Regions from separate parts of the Homo sapiens genome. Here region 2 is linked to region 1. The links are contacts of gene promoters, found by promoter capture Hi-C in human tissues and cell types (Jung and others, 2019). All regions are on one chromosome and are shown on one strand. Each heading gives the region's core, a stretch centred on a gene start or on the middle of the fragment in contact. The rest is flanking DNA. Distances are from core to core; before and after follow the strand shown.

Region 1 (6,612 bases), core at 2,193-4,692:
TCCCAGAACCCCCAGCCCTTCACCGTGGAGCCAACTGGCGGGGAGTAGAGTGGGCAAGAAGTACTTCTTCAAGAATCATTTCCCCAAGAAAGATGACTAGATTGGATGGTTTCTTTTTTTTGAGATGGAGTCTCCCTCTAACACCTAGGCTGGAGTGAAGTGGCGCAATCTCGGCTCACTGCAGCCTCCGCCTCCCGAGTTCCAGCGATTCTCCAGCCTCAGCCTCCCAGGTAGCTGGGATTACAGGCACGCGCCACTGTGCTCAGCTAATTTTTGTATTTTTAGTAGAGACAAGGTTTCACCATGTTGGCTAGGCTGGGCTTGAACTCCTGACCTCAGGTGATCCCCCCACTTCGGCCTCCCAAACTGTTAGGATTACAGGCGTGAGCCACCATACCCAGCCTAGACTGGATGCTAATTTTTTTTTTTTTTTTTTTGGAGACAAAGTCTTGCTCTGTTGCCCAGGCTGGAGTGCAATGGCGTGATTTCTGCTCACTGCAACCTCCGCCTCCCCGGTTTAACTAATTCTTCTGCCTCAGCCTTGCAAGTAGCTGGGATTACAGATGTGTGCCACCACTCCTGGCTAATTTTTGTATTTTTAGTAGAGACAGGGTTTCACCATATTGGCCAGGCTGGTCTCGAACTCCTGACCTCAGGTGATCCACCTGCCTCAGCCTCCCAAAGTGCTGAGATTACAGGTGTGAGCCACCATGCCCGGCCTGAAATGTTCTTTTGAGGATAACACCTTCTCATCCTTGATATTCCTTCCTCAGGAGCAGCCTTTACCACCACCATGTCATCCTAATTCAGGTCAGTTCCCCCTGTTATAAGCAATAATGGCTCTGTGACTATTTCATAGCATCTGTCATAAGTGGAATTATTATATATATATATATATATATGGTGTATTTTCTTAACGTCTGTAACCCCTACTACTGGGTAAGCCCCAGAAGGACAAAAACCACATCTATTATTCCCAGTGCATAGCACAGAGCACTGCACATAGAAGATATTCCATACATATTTGTGGAATATAAACTAAGCTACGAATGCTAAGTATTTTGTGCTTTACAGATATTATTTCATTTAATCTTCATTATTACCCCAGTAAGTAGGGAAGATTAACGTAATTGTCGTAAGAAGGAAACTTATCTGTAAAACTCTTAACTACTAACACTGACTGCCTCTCCTTTGGGGCCTATATTTCACTCCTAAACAGAAAGACAAAGTTATCCTGCAATAAGATCAGGAAGCTCACTACCGCAGTTGCTGCTGTAGTATCCCTGGTACCATGAACATGAGTGAATACCTCCACTTCAGAATCTATATGAGGATGACAGGGACAATATAAGAAGTTCTTTTTTTTTTTTTTTTTTTTGAGATGGAGCTTCACTCTTGTCGCCCAGGCTGGAGTGCAATGGCGCAATCTCGGCTCACTGCAATTCCCAGGTTCAAGTGATTTTCCTGCCTCAGCCTCCCGAGTAGCTGGGATTACAGGCAAGTGCCACCAAGCCCAGCTACTTTTTTATATTTTTAGTAGAGACTAGGTTTCACCATGTTGGCCAGGCTGTTCTCGAACTCCTGACCTCAGGTGATCCACCTGCCTTGGCCTCCCAAAATGTTGGGATTACAGGCATGAGCCACGGCACCCGGCCAGAAGTTCTTGCTGGCAAAGTTACAAGGGCAAAAAAGTGACAAGAAGCTATGCAGAACACGTTGGGATATTTTTTAAAACAGGCAAAAAGAGAGTTATCTTTGTGCTCATTGGGGCAAAGTCTAACACAGCAGGATCAGCTCCTTAAAGTCAGTGTCCCAAGGCTACCCATTTTACCACTAGCCAAGGTTTAGTTCAGGCAGCTTAGACCCCAAGCCAGGGAGAGAACAAGGAACAACCCTGCAGTTAACCAAACTCACCAACACAGGAAGCTAGCTAAGGAATGAGGAAAGACTGTCCTGGGCTCAAAAGGTCCCAACTCTCATTCTCCAGGCTTCAGTCCTGTCCTGTTACTCTCAGGAATCTGGCACCTCCTGCGGAAAGCTTAGGAAAGCTTAGGGCATGCTAAGTGTGGCCACTGCCCCTCTGGGAAACCCCTCCAAGCTCAAGGCAGTCACTGCCTGTTCAGCTCTACAGAATCTGGAAAAGGCCCCAAGAGTCTGTGTGTAATTTCCTTCCAAGGCCCCAGCCCCCAGCAGCTGGGCCCCAGAGCTGACCAGGTGTGGCCTCCCCCTGTATTCTAGCCACAGGGCTGCTGTAGGGAAACCGTGAAAATACAGAATGGCTTCTTACCACTAAAGCTGAGTTCCCGCAGCTTTTCCAATGCAATTGAGGGCTCCTTCAGGACATCCTGGAAATCTGCAATTCTGGAAGGGGAGATAGGGCGGCAAATGAAGCATGCTGATATCGGCTCAGTGAGACCCACAGCCCTCAGCTCCCTCACACTGCCAGTTTCCAACCTGTGCCTCTCTCCCCTTTAGGACATAAAAATCACACAGCTTAGTCAAGGTCCTCACCAAAGACAGCTTTGGAGAACAACAAAACTATATTTCACTTCTTCCTCTACAACCAGAAACACAGAATGCCAGGGAAGAAACTTGAGAGATATTCTTGTCTAGAAGTTCCCAAATGAGGACCATAAAATTAGACATATTCCAACATTCTAATACTTAGTGAGCTGACATTTACTGGGCACTTCCTGCCGGCCAGGCCGGGTCCACGCACAGCCACCAACTGAACTCCTTGGACCTCAGGAACCAGGAGTAATTTGATATGCAGACAATGGACCATGCTCACAAATATAACCATTACAAGACCTCTGGGCCTGCCAGAAGGCAAGGACAAAGGGTTTAAAAAACACGTCCTGAAGGAAAACTGAAGAGTGAGCAAAATTCAGCCAATGCTGCAGGATCTGGCCTGGGGGAGGGGCCAGACTGGAGAATGCAAGTTCTCTAGCAATCCTAGTAAGAAAAAGGCACGGGGGACAGGGTGCACTTGGAGAGAGTACGGGAGCAGGGGGATCAAAAGGGGGAAAGGCACGGGGGCGGGGCATGGGGGTCTGGATGAGGAAGACTCAGGGGAAGGGGGACACCAGGGGTCCAGGATGAGGGAGGCAGAAGCAGTGACATCAGGGGCAGGAGAAGGGCCGCCCCTCCGTCGTTCCTGCAGCCCACAGGCAATGAGGTTAGAAGGTGGACGCTCGAGACCCTCTGCCGAGGGGGTCTGCCGATTCCTGGCCACACCCGCGCTTCCCCCTTCTGAGGGGCAGAAGGGGCAGCCTGGCCAGGAGTGGCCCAGCCGGGTCAGGCCCCATGGCCCCTTACCGGCTCTTGTGCAGACTTGACATGGTGTTGACTTCCGGACCCCCCAGCCGCCTCCGCCGCCTGCGCCTCTGCCGCCTGCGCTGCCGCCGCCGCCGCCGCCCCCCAGGGACGCGGGGCTCTGCGCAAAAGCCTCCGGCGGGAAACACAGCCACTAGCCTGCGCGTTCCACCGCCTCAGCCCCGCCCCGCCCCGCCAGTCACGTGCCACCCCTCGACTCTCACGCTTCCACACGGTACTGGCGGCTACGGCCGGCCGGGTTGAGCGGGGCAACCTCGGGTCTGGTGGGCGTGGCAATCGCGGGCCGGGAGCCCCAGCGCCGCCGACCCTGCGGGCCAAATTTGAGAACCCGCCGGTGACAGCGCAGACTGTGTGTCTCTGGACTATTCCTTGCGCTTCCCTGGGCCTCAGTGTCTACTTACGCAATATACCTGTCACCCTGTCGTCTTCCCTGCACTCACCCCCCTGTAATTAACTACTGCATGATTGTTACAGGAGTCTCGGCCTCCCCTGCTAAACTGTTCAGGCCCCCCAGCTTATCTTGGTCTCTGCAGAATCCTCAAGGCCTGTATAGCAGGGACTCGCATGAACCGCCGTGCGCGGCCCAACTTTTTTTTTTTTTATAAAAACTATACCAGCAAACCCTATAAAATGTAAGTTAGGAAGAAAGAAAAAAACACAAATGATATCTTAAGAAAAATAGGCTGGACCGGGCGCGGTGGCTCATCCCTGTAAATTCCAGTGCTTTGGGAGGACGAGGCAGGCAGACCACTTGAGGTCAGGAGTTGGAGACCACTCTGGCCAACACGGTGAAACCCCGTCTCTACCAAAAATGCAAAAATTAGCCGGGCGTGGTGGCAGGCGCCTGTAATCCCAGCTCCTCGAGATTACCTTCTTTACAAAAGATGTAAAAATTAGTTGAGTAGGCCGGGCGTGGTGGCTCACGCCTGTAATCCCAGCACTTTGGGAGGCTGAAGCGGGCAGATCACCAGGTCAGGAATTTGAGAACAGCCTAACCAACATGGTGAAACCTCGTCTCTACTAAAAATACAAAAATTAGCCGGGTGTGGTGACGCACAACTGTAATCCCAGCTACTCAGGAAGCTGAGGCAGGAGAATTGCTTGAACCCGGGAGGCGGAGCTTGCAGTGAGCCGAGATAGTGCCACCGCACTCCAATAGCGCCACCGCACTCCAACCTGGGCAAAAACGCAAGACCCTGTCAAAAAAAAAAAAAAAAGAAAAGAAAAGAAAAGAAACTGCTTAAAGATTTTCCGAAATGGTTGTATTATTTAACACCTTTTTCTTGAGAAAAAAAAAAAAAGAAAGAAACAGCTAGCCAGGCGCGGTGGCTCACGCCTGTAATCCCAGCACTTTGGGAGGCCAAGGAGGGCGGATCATGAGGTCAGGAGATCGAGACCATCCTGTCTAACACGGTGAAACCCCATCTCTACTAAAAAATACAAAGAAAAAAATTAGCCGGGCGTGGTGGTGGGTGCCTGTAGTCCCAGCTACTCGGGAGGCTGAGGCAGGAGAATGGCATGAACCTGGGAGGCAGAGCTTGCAGTGAGTGGAGATTGCACGACTGCACTCCAGCCTGGGCGAAAGAGCGACACTCTATCTCAAAAAAAAAAAAAGAAAAAGAAAAAGAAAAGAAAGTGCTTAAATATTTTCCAAAATGGTTGTATTATTTAACACCTACCCCAGCAGTATATGAGAGTTGCTGTTGTACCACGTCCTCACCAATACTTGATGTGGTCAGTCTTTTTAATCTTAGACATTCTAGTAGATGTGAAGTGGTATCTCCTGCTTTAACATGCATTTCCCTAAAGACATATGATGTTGAGCATCTCTTCACACGTTTGCTATGCATATATACTCTTCTTTCTTTTTTTTGAGACATGGTCTCACTCTGTCACCCCAGGCTGGAGTGCAGTGGCGCAATCTCAGTTCACTGCAACCTCTGCCTACTGAGTAGCTGGGACTACAGGCGCATGCCACCATGCCCAGCTGATTTTTGTATTTTGAGGTAGAGATAGGGTTTCATCATGTTGGCCAGGCTGGTCTCAAACTCCTGACCTCAAGTGTCTGCCCACCTCAGGCCTCCCAAAGTGCTGGGATTACAGGCATGAGCTACCATGCCTGGCCTTCTTTTTTTTTTTTCTTGAGACGGAATCTCACTCTTGTTGCCGAGGCTGGAGTGCAATGGGGTGATCTCCAGCTCACGGCAACCTCTGCCTCCCGGGTTCAAGCGATTCTTCTGCCTCAGCCTCCCGAGTAGCTAGGATTAAAGGTTCATGCCACCCTGCCTGGCTAATTTTTATATTTTTTGATTTAAAAAAAATTTTGTATTTTTAGTAGAGACGGGTTTTCATCATGTTGGCCAGGCTGGCCTCAAACTCCTGACCTCAGGTTATTCTCCCTCCTCGGCCTCCCAAAATCCTGGGATTACAGGCGTGAGATACCATGCCTGGCAGCACCTGGCCTTCTAATTTTTTTTTTTTTTTGAGATGGAGTCTGGCTCTGTTGCCCAGGCTGGAGTGCAGTGGTGCAATCTCCACTCACCACAACCTCCGCCTCCTGAGTTCAAGCAATTCTCCTACCTCAGCCTCCCAAGTAGCTGGGATTATAGGCGCGCGCCAGTATGCCTGGCTAATTTTTGTAGTTTTAGTAGAGACGGGTTTCTCCATGTTGGCCAGGCTGGTCTTGAACTCCTGACCTCAGGCGATCTGCCCACCTTTGCCTCCCAAAGTGCTGAGATGACAGTCATGAGCCACCATGCCTGTCCCTATTGCCCGTTCTTTATTGTACTTTTTTTTTTTTTTTTTTTTTGAGACAGTCTCTCTGTTCTTGGCTGGGCTGGAGTGCAATGGCGCAATCTTGGCTCACAGCAACCTCTGCCTCCAGCAATTATCCTGCCTCAGCCTCCCAAGTAGCTGAGATTACAGGCGCCCACCACCACACCTGGCTAATTTTTGTATTTTAGCAGAGACGGGGTTTCACCATGTTGGCCAGGCTGGTCTCGAACTCCTGACATCAGGTGATCTACCCACCTCGGGCTCCCAAAGTGTTGGGATTACAGGCGTGCATCACCATGCCAAGCCTATTGTACTTTTTTTTTTTTTTTTTTTGATACGGAGTCTTACTCTGTCACCAGGCTAGAGTGCAGTGGCGCAATCTCGGCTCACTGCAACCTCCGCCTCCCGGGTTAAAGTGCTTCTCCTGCCTCAGCCTCCTAAGTAGCTGGGATTACAGGTGCCTGCTACCACACCCGGCTAGTTTTTGTATTTTTAGTACAG
Region 2 (6,612 bases), core at 2,129-4,628, 61 kb before region 1:
CTGGATTCCTCCGAGCGCACAAGCATACTGCAAGGCTGACCGTGGACGTACTCGGGAATCTCTCATCAGCTGTCCTCAATACTCACGTTCTCAGCATAACTTCACCCTGGAGAAAGGCCCCATATTGGGCGTCAGATGAAGGGGTGGCCTGCCCCTCCATACCTGTGGGATATCTCGTCAGGTGGGATGAGAGACTGAGAAAAGAAATAAGACACAGAGACAAAGTGTAGAGAAACAACAGTGGGCCCAGGAGACCGGCATGCAGCATATCAAGGACCTGCACCAGTACCGGTCTCTGAGTTTCCTCACTTTTTATTGATTATTATTTTTATTATCTCAGCAAGAGGAATGCAGTAGGAGAGCAGGGTGATAATAAGGAGAAGTTCAGCAAAAAACATGAGCAAAAGAATCTGTCATAATTAAGTTCAAGGGGAGGTACTATGCCTGCATGTGCATGTAGGCCGGATTTATGTTTCTCTCCACCCAAACATCTCAGTGGAGTAAAGAATAGCAGGCAGCATTGCTGCCAATGTGTCTCGCCTCCCGCCATAGGGTGGTTTTTCTCCTATCTCAGAATTGAACAAATGTATAATCAGGTTTTATACTGAGACATTCAGTTCCCAGGGGCAGGCAGGAGACAGTGGCCTTCCTCTATCTCAACTTCATGAGGCTTTCCTCTTTTACTAATCCACCTCAGCACAGACCCTTTACAGGTGTTGGGCTGGGGGACGGTCAGGTCTTTCTCATCCCACGAGGCCATATTTCAGACTATCACATGGGGAGAAACCTCGGACAATACGCGGCTTTCCAAGGCAGAGGTCCCTGTGGCTTTCTGCAGTGCATTGTGCCCCTGGTTTATTGAGACTAGAGAATGGCGATGACTTTTACCAAGCATACTGCTTGTAAACATTTTGTTAACAAGGCATATCCTGCACAGCCCTAGATCCCTTAAACCCTGGTTCCCTACAACACATGTTTTTGTGAGCTCAAAGTTAGGGCAAAGTGGCTGGGGCAAAGTTACAAATTAACAACATCTCAGCAAAGCAATTGTTCAAGGTACAGGTCAAAATGGAATTTCTTATGTCTTCCATTTCTACATAGACACAGTAACAGTCTGATCTCTCTTTCTTTTCCCTACACTGAAGAAGGAGGATCGCTTGAAGTCAGGGGTTCAAGAACAGCCTGGGCTGGCCAGGCATGGTGGCTCATGCCTGCAATCCTAACACTGTGGGAGGCCGTCATGAGCAGAACAACTTCAGGCCAGGAGTTCAAGACCAGCCTGGCCAGTATAGCAAAACCCCATCTCTAATTAAAATACAAAAATTAGCCAGGCATGGTGGCACACACGTATAATCCCAGCTACTCAGGAGGCTGAGGCAGGAGAATCACTTGAACCCAGGAAGTCGAGGCTGCAGTGAGCTGAGAAGGCACCACTGCACTCCAGCCTGGGTAACAACGTGAGACCCTATCTCAAAAAAAAAAAAAAAAAAAGAAGAAAATAAAAAATTTATATGTGTGTATTCTGTGAGATAGAGGTCCAAATTCATTCTTTTCTTTTCTTTTCTTTTTTTTTTTTTTTGAGACAGAGTCTCACTTTGTCTCCCAGGCTGGAGTGCAGTGGCGTGATCTCGGCTCACTGCAACCTCCATCTCCCAAGTTGAAGCAATTCTCTGCCTCAGCCTCCTGAGTAGCTGGGATTACAGGTGCCAACCACCATGCCTGGCTAATTTTTTGTATTTTTAGTACACCATCTTGGTTTCACCATCTTGGCCAGGCTGGTCTTGAGCTCCTAACCTCATGATCAGCCTGCCTCGGCCTCCCAAAGTGCTGGGATTACAGGCATAAGCTGCCACGCCTGGCCCCAAATTCATTCATTTACATGTGGATATTTAGTTGTCTCAGCACCATTTGTTCATTTGTTGAAAAGATTATTATTTCCCACCCCCCACCCCCGCTTTTTTTTTGAGCCGGTGACTTGCTCTGTCACCCAGCCTGGAGTGCAGTGGTGTGATCTCGGCTCACTGCAACCTCCGCCTCCTGGGTTCCAGCGATTCTCCTGCCTCAGCCTCCTGGGTAGCTGGGACTACAGGCATGTGCCACCATGCCCTGCTAATTTTGTATTTTTCGTAGAAATGGGGTTTCACCATGTTGACCAGGCTGGTATCGAACTCCTGACCTCAGGTGATCCGTCCACCTCAGCCTCCCAAATTGCTGGAATTACAGGCATGAGCCACCATGCCTGGCCTCCCCACCTTTTTTTTTGAGACAGTCTCATTTTGTCGCTTAGGCTGGAGTACAGTGGCACGATCTTGGCTCACTGCAACCTTTGCCTCCCAGGTTCAAGCAGTTCTCCTGCCTCAGCCTCACAAGTAGCTGGGACTACAGTCATGTGCCACCACACCCAGCTAATTTTTTGTATTTTTATTAGAGATGGGGTTTCGCTGGTCTCAAACTCCTGACCTCAAATGATCCTCCCGCCTTGGCCTCCCAAAGTGTTCGTGTTACAGGCATGAGCCACACCCAGCCTCCCAATTTTTTTTTTTTTTTTTTTTTTGAGACAGAGTCTCACTCTGTCACCCAGGCTGGAGTGCAGTGAGTGGCGTGATCTCGGCTCACTGCATCCTCCACCTCCTAAGTTCAAGTGATTCTTCTGCCTCAGCCTCCCAGTAACTGGGATTACAGGTGCACACCACCATGCCTGGCTAATTTTTGTATTTTTAGTAGAGACGAGGTTTTAGCATGTTGGCCAGGCTGGTCACAAACTTCTGACCTGAAGTGATCCACTCGCCTCAGCCTCCCACAGTGCTGGGATTACAGGCGTGAGCCACCATGCCTGGCCCCCATTTGAGTTTCTTAGCATCTTATCAAATAGCAATTGTGACCATTTATTTCTGGACTGTCAGTTCTATTCAATTGACTTATATATCTATCTTTAAGCAGTATCACACTTTCTTGGTTCCTGTATGTTTGCATTAAGCTTCCAAATTGTGCAGTGTGATTTCTTCAATTTTTTTCTTCTTTTTCAGGCATTTACTTTTTTTTTTTTTTTTTTTTTTGAGACATATCTCCCTCTGTCGCCCAGGCTGGAGTGCAGTGGTGGGATCATGGCTCACTGTAGCCTTGACCTCTCCAGGATCAAGTGATTCTCCCACTTTAGCTTCCCCAGTAGCTGGGACTACAGGTGTGCACCATCACACCTGGTCAATTTTTGTATTTTTGTAGAGACGGTGTTTCAGTATGTTGCCCAGGCTGGTCTCAAACTCCTGGGCTCAAGAGATCCTCCTGCTTTGGCCTCCCAAAGTGCTGAGTTTACAGGTGTGAGACACATTGCCCTGCTTGAATTTGTTGATTGCATCTCCATGGTGTTATTTAACATGTTCTTCTGTCCCTGTATTTTAGTCATTCAACAGTGTGATCTAATTTAGGGCCACTTTTACAGCAGGAATAATTTGCAGGTGGTGTATGTGTTTCCAGAGTCAGAACATGTTTGGTTTATGCTCTTGGTGATATTCAGGGCTATCAGTGATCCTCTCCTGGATCATTTTTTAATTAGAGGTGATTTGTGTTTTGAAAGGGTCACTTGGGTTGCTGGGGGGTGTATTGTATATGAGTAACAGGGTTCTTATAAGGACGGAGTCGGATAATCATGCAACAGAGCACTTGGTGCTATTCCTGGCACGCAATGACCATATTGTTGTTGTTGTTGTTGTTGTTGTTGTTGTTATTGTTAGAGCTGTGTGTGGGGGACCCAAGTCCTGAGCTCGGAGGCATTTTCTGGCCAGGGCTGTTTCCTCCCTTCTCCCCTGCCTCTGGAAAAGTCTGCAGTGCCCCAAGGCTCTGGGAGGCATGTTCAGGACTGCAGCAGCCATCTCTGTGCACCTGGTGGGGCCCCTTCAGGGAAGGAAGGCTGGAGCCCCACTCACTTGGTTCTTGCACCAGACTGTAAGTGCCCTAACCCCAATACTCTGCCACCTGCATGGCCTGGGGCTTCTGGGGTCTGGCTCGTTCCTGGCTTCAAAGCTGTGCATGAGCCTTCTCTTTCAGGGAGCCCTCTTTAACTGCAGCCTGTATGTGGGCTTCTCCCTTGCCCCTGCTTCTCTAGTCTAGAACTTGTAGCTCTGCATCTGAATAGTCAGCTTGGGCGCTGTAGGGTGCTGCTTCCCATGATCCCCTGTGCCCATCCCAGAACCCAGTACCTGGTAGGGACTCAATAAATGTCAACTGAGCCAGGCGCGGTGGGGTTCCTGGGCCATGGAAGACCTGGCACTTACTCAAATGGTCCCAAGGCCCCTCCAGGACAGGGGGGCCTGGTGTTGAGATTACTGTGGCTGCCACCCTGACCAGGTCCTTGCCAGCTTCTCTTCTGACCCTGGGCAGGTACCTGAGCCTCTTCAAGCCTCAGTGTCCTCATCTGTTAGATGGAGACTATTGTGGCACCTCTAGTGAGAGTGCAGTGGGAACTGAGCGAGGTGGAACTGAGCAAAATCCTGAGCCAGGGTTCACTATTGACCACAGCAGGTGGCTGAGAAGAATGTTGGATCCCCAGCTCCACGGCCCACCAGCCATCTGGGACTGGCAAACCCACAGGAACGGAAGGTTCCTCAGGGACCACAAAGCCCATGTGAGGTCCCTGCTGCTGAAGGGATTCTGAGGACAGGAGGAGCCAAATTACCTATCCAGGGTCACCCAGCCAAGGTGGGTTAGGACCTGAGTTTGGTGGCTCTCAGGTCTGGCCAATTTCTTTCTTTCTTTTTTTTTTTTTTTTTTTTTTTTTGGTAGAGTCTTGCTCGTTGGGTCGGGCAGGAGTGCAGTGGCTGGCACGATCTTGGCCCACTGCAATCTCCATCTCCCAGGTTCAAGTGATTCTCAGGCCTCAGCCTCCTGAGTAGCTGGGATTACAGGCATGTGTCATGACGCCCAGATAAGTTTCTTTGTTTGTTTTTCCCAGACTGAGTTTCACTCTAATGCTCAGGCTGGAGTGCAGTGGTGTGCTCTTGCCTCACTGCAATGTCTGCCTCCCAGGTTCAAGTGATTCTTGTGCCTCAGCCTCCCAAGTAGCTGGGATAACAGGTGCGTGCTACCACGCCCAGCTAATTTTTGTATTTTTAGTAGAGATGGGGGTTTCACCATGTTGGCCAGGCTGGTCTCGAACTCCTGACCTCAGGTGATCTGCCCGCCTCAGCCTCCCAAAGTGCTGGGATTACAGGCGTGAGCCACTGTGCCCAGCCCCTGGCCAGTTTCTGCACACCAGTGGCTGAGGAGGGAGCTGGCCTGGGAGGAACACCGGGAGGGGAGGGGCGAGCCAGGAGCCAGGACCCCGGGACCCTCCGAGGAGCGGATTAGTGCCTCCCTCAGAGTTAGGACATGGCCTTGGGTCCAACAGGCCTAAGTCTGAGTGTGTGTGTTGTGTGGCCTTAAACACATCACTCCCCCTCCTGCACCCTCCAGCCTCTGTTTTCCACCTTCTGTTTTCTCATTGATAAGATAGGCCTGACCAGGTCATTCAGGGAATGAAATGGAAGTGCTTAGCAAGACCTCTGTAAGTGGAGGCTGCTGCTGTCACTGTTGCCATTATCCTCCCTCTCCGCTCCACCCACCTCCTGCTCCTCTTCTTTAACCCTCAGCCCTTCCTGAGTCAGACTTTAACCTGGCCAAGTCAGGGCTCTGTCTCAGGACGCATGGAGCCAGGGCTGGAAGTCTCCACTGGGCAGGCGCCAGGCAGCCCCTGCAGGTTGGGGAGGTGGAGGCTGCTGGAGTCAAGAGGAACCAGGTGAGGGTGTTGGAGCATAACAGGCTTGGGAGGCAGGCAGAAACCTGCCCTTCTGCAAACTCTATCTCTTCCCCCTCCTGGGAGCAGACAGGATGGCGCTGTGGCCTGAAAGCAGCTGTCCCTCCTGTGTGCAAGCTCGGACTGCTGCACCCAGACAGATTCCATCTCTGACCTTCCACTTGTTCGTCTCCAGCTCGCCATGGCCAAACAGCTGCAGGCCCGAAGGCTAGACGGGATCGACTACAACCCCTGGTGAGCCAGCTGGGCTGGGGAGGTGTGTGGGTGTCCCCTCGGGCATGGGTTGGCCATCCCTGGGTTTACAGCAACTCAGTAGTACTCCAGATGGTGGCGGTACACAGACTGCCAGATTCCAGCCATAGCTCAGGAGAGACAGGGCCCGAGGGAGTAGGCTTGGTTCAAATCTCAGCTTTCTTCTGCATGACTGTGCCACTAGGACAGGTGACATACCTGCTCTGAGCCTCATCTCCCCAGCTGCAAAATGAAGAGTTATACCCACCTGGAGAGCGTTGGGGAGGAAAAAGTAAAATGCTGTCCAAAGCCATTCTACCCAGGCACCAAGCTAAGGCCTTTCCAGGGATGACTCTTTCTCACTTGGTATAGAGTCAGATAAACTAAGATAAGTAAAATAAGCAAGTAAGATACAGTCAGCTCTTCACCAGACATTTGCAGAGGTTGATATTGTTTTCTTTTTTGACTTGTTTTATTTTCATTTTATTTTTGAGACGGAGTTTTGCCCTTGTCGCCCAGGCTGGAGTGCAATGGTGCGGTCTCGGCTCACTGCAACCTCTGCCTCCTGGGTTCAAATGATTCTCCTGCTTCAG

What was found. The method cuts DNA at HindIII sites, captures the fragments that hold promoters and counts their contacts. A contact is called where the count stands out against the background at its distance.
Region 2: a contact is called between a fragment that was not itself captured here and the fragment with the promoter of TBC1D13 in region 1, in 1 of the 25 tissues and cell types used here (ovary).

What each region holds. Positions count from the first base shown.
Region 1 is chr9:128,784,083-128,790,694 of GRCh38, reverse strand. TBC1D13 (TBC1 domain family member 13) reads right to left here and starts at 3,442. Exons shown (of 12, transcript NM_018201.5): 1 at 3,319-3,442; 2 at 2,288-2,361. The coding sequence starts at 3,341. RefSeq lists a silencer at 3,305-3,794. The HindIII fragment of the contact is 9,895 bases long and covers 442-6,612 here.
Region 2 is chr9:128,844,763-128,851,374 of GRCh38, reverse strand. It overlaps KYAT1-SPOUT1 (KYAT1-SPOUT1 readthrough), which reads left to right. Exons shown (of 25, transcript NR_182311.1): 2 at 5,964-6,022. It overlaps KYAT1 (kynurenine aminotransferase 1), which reads left to right. Exons shown (of 13, transcript NM_004059.5): 2 at 5,964-6,022. The coding sequence starts at 5,970. Among named protein-coding and RNA genes, the nearest start is that of SPOUT1, 18 kb to the right of the region's middle. RefSeq lists a silencer at 6,008-6,234. The HindIII fragment of the contact is 3,862 bases long and covers 1,448-5,309 here.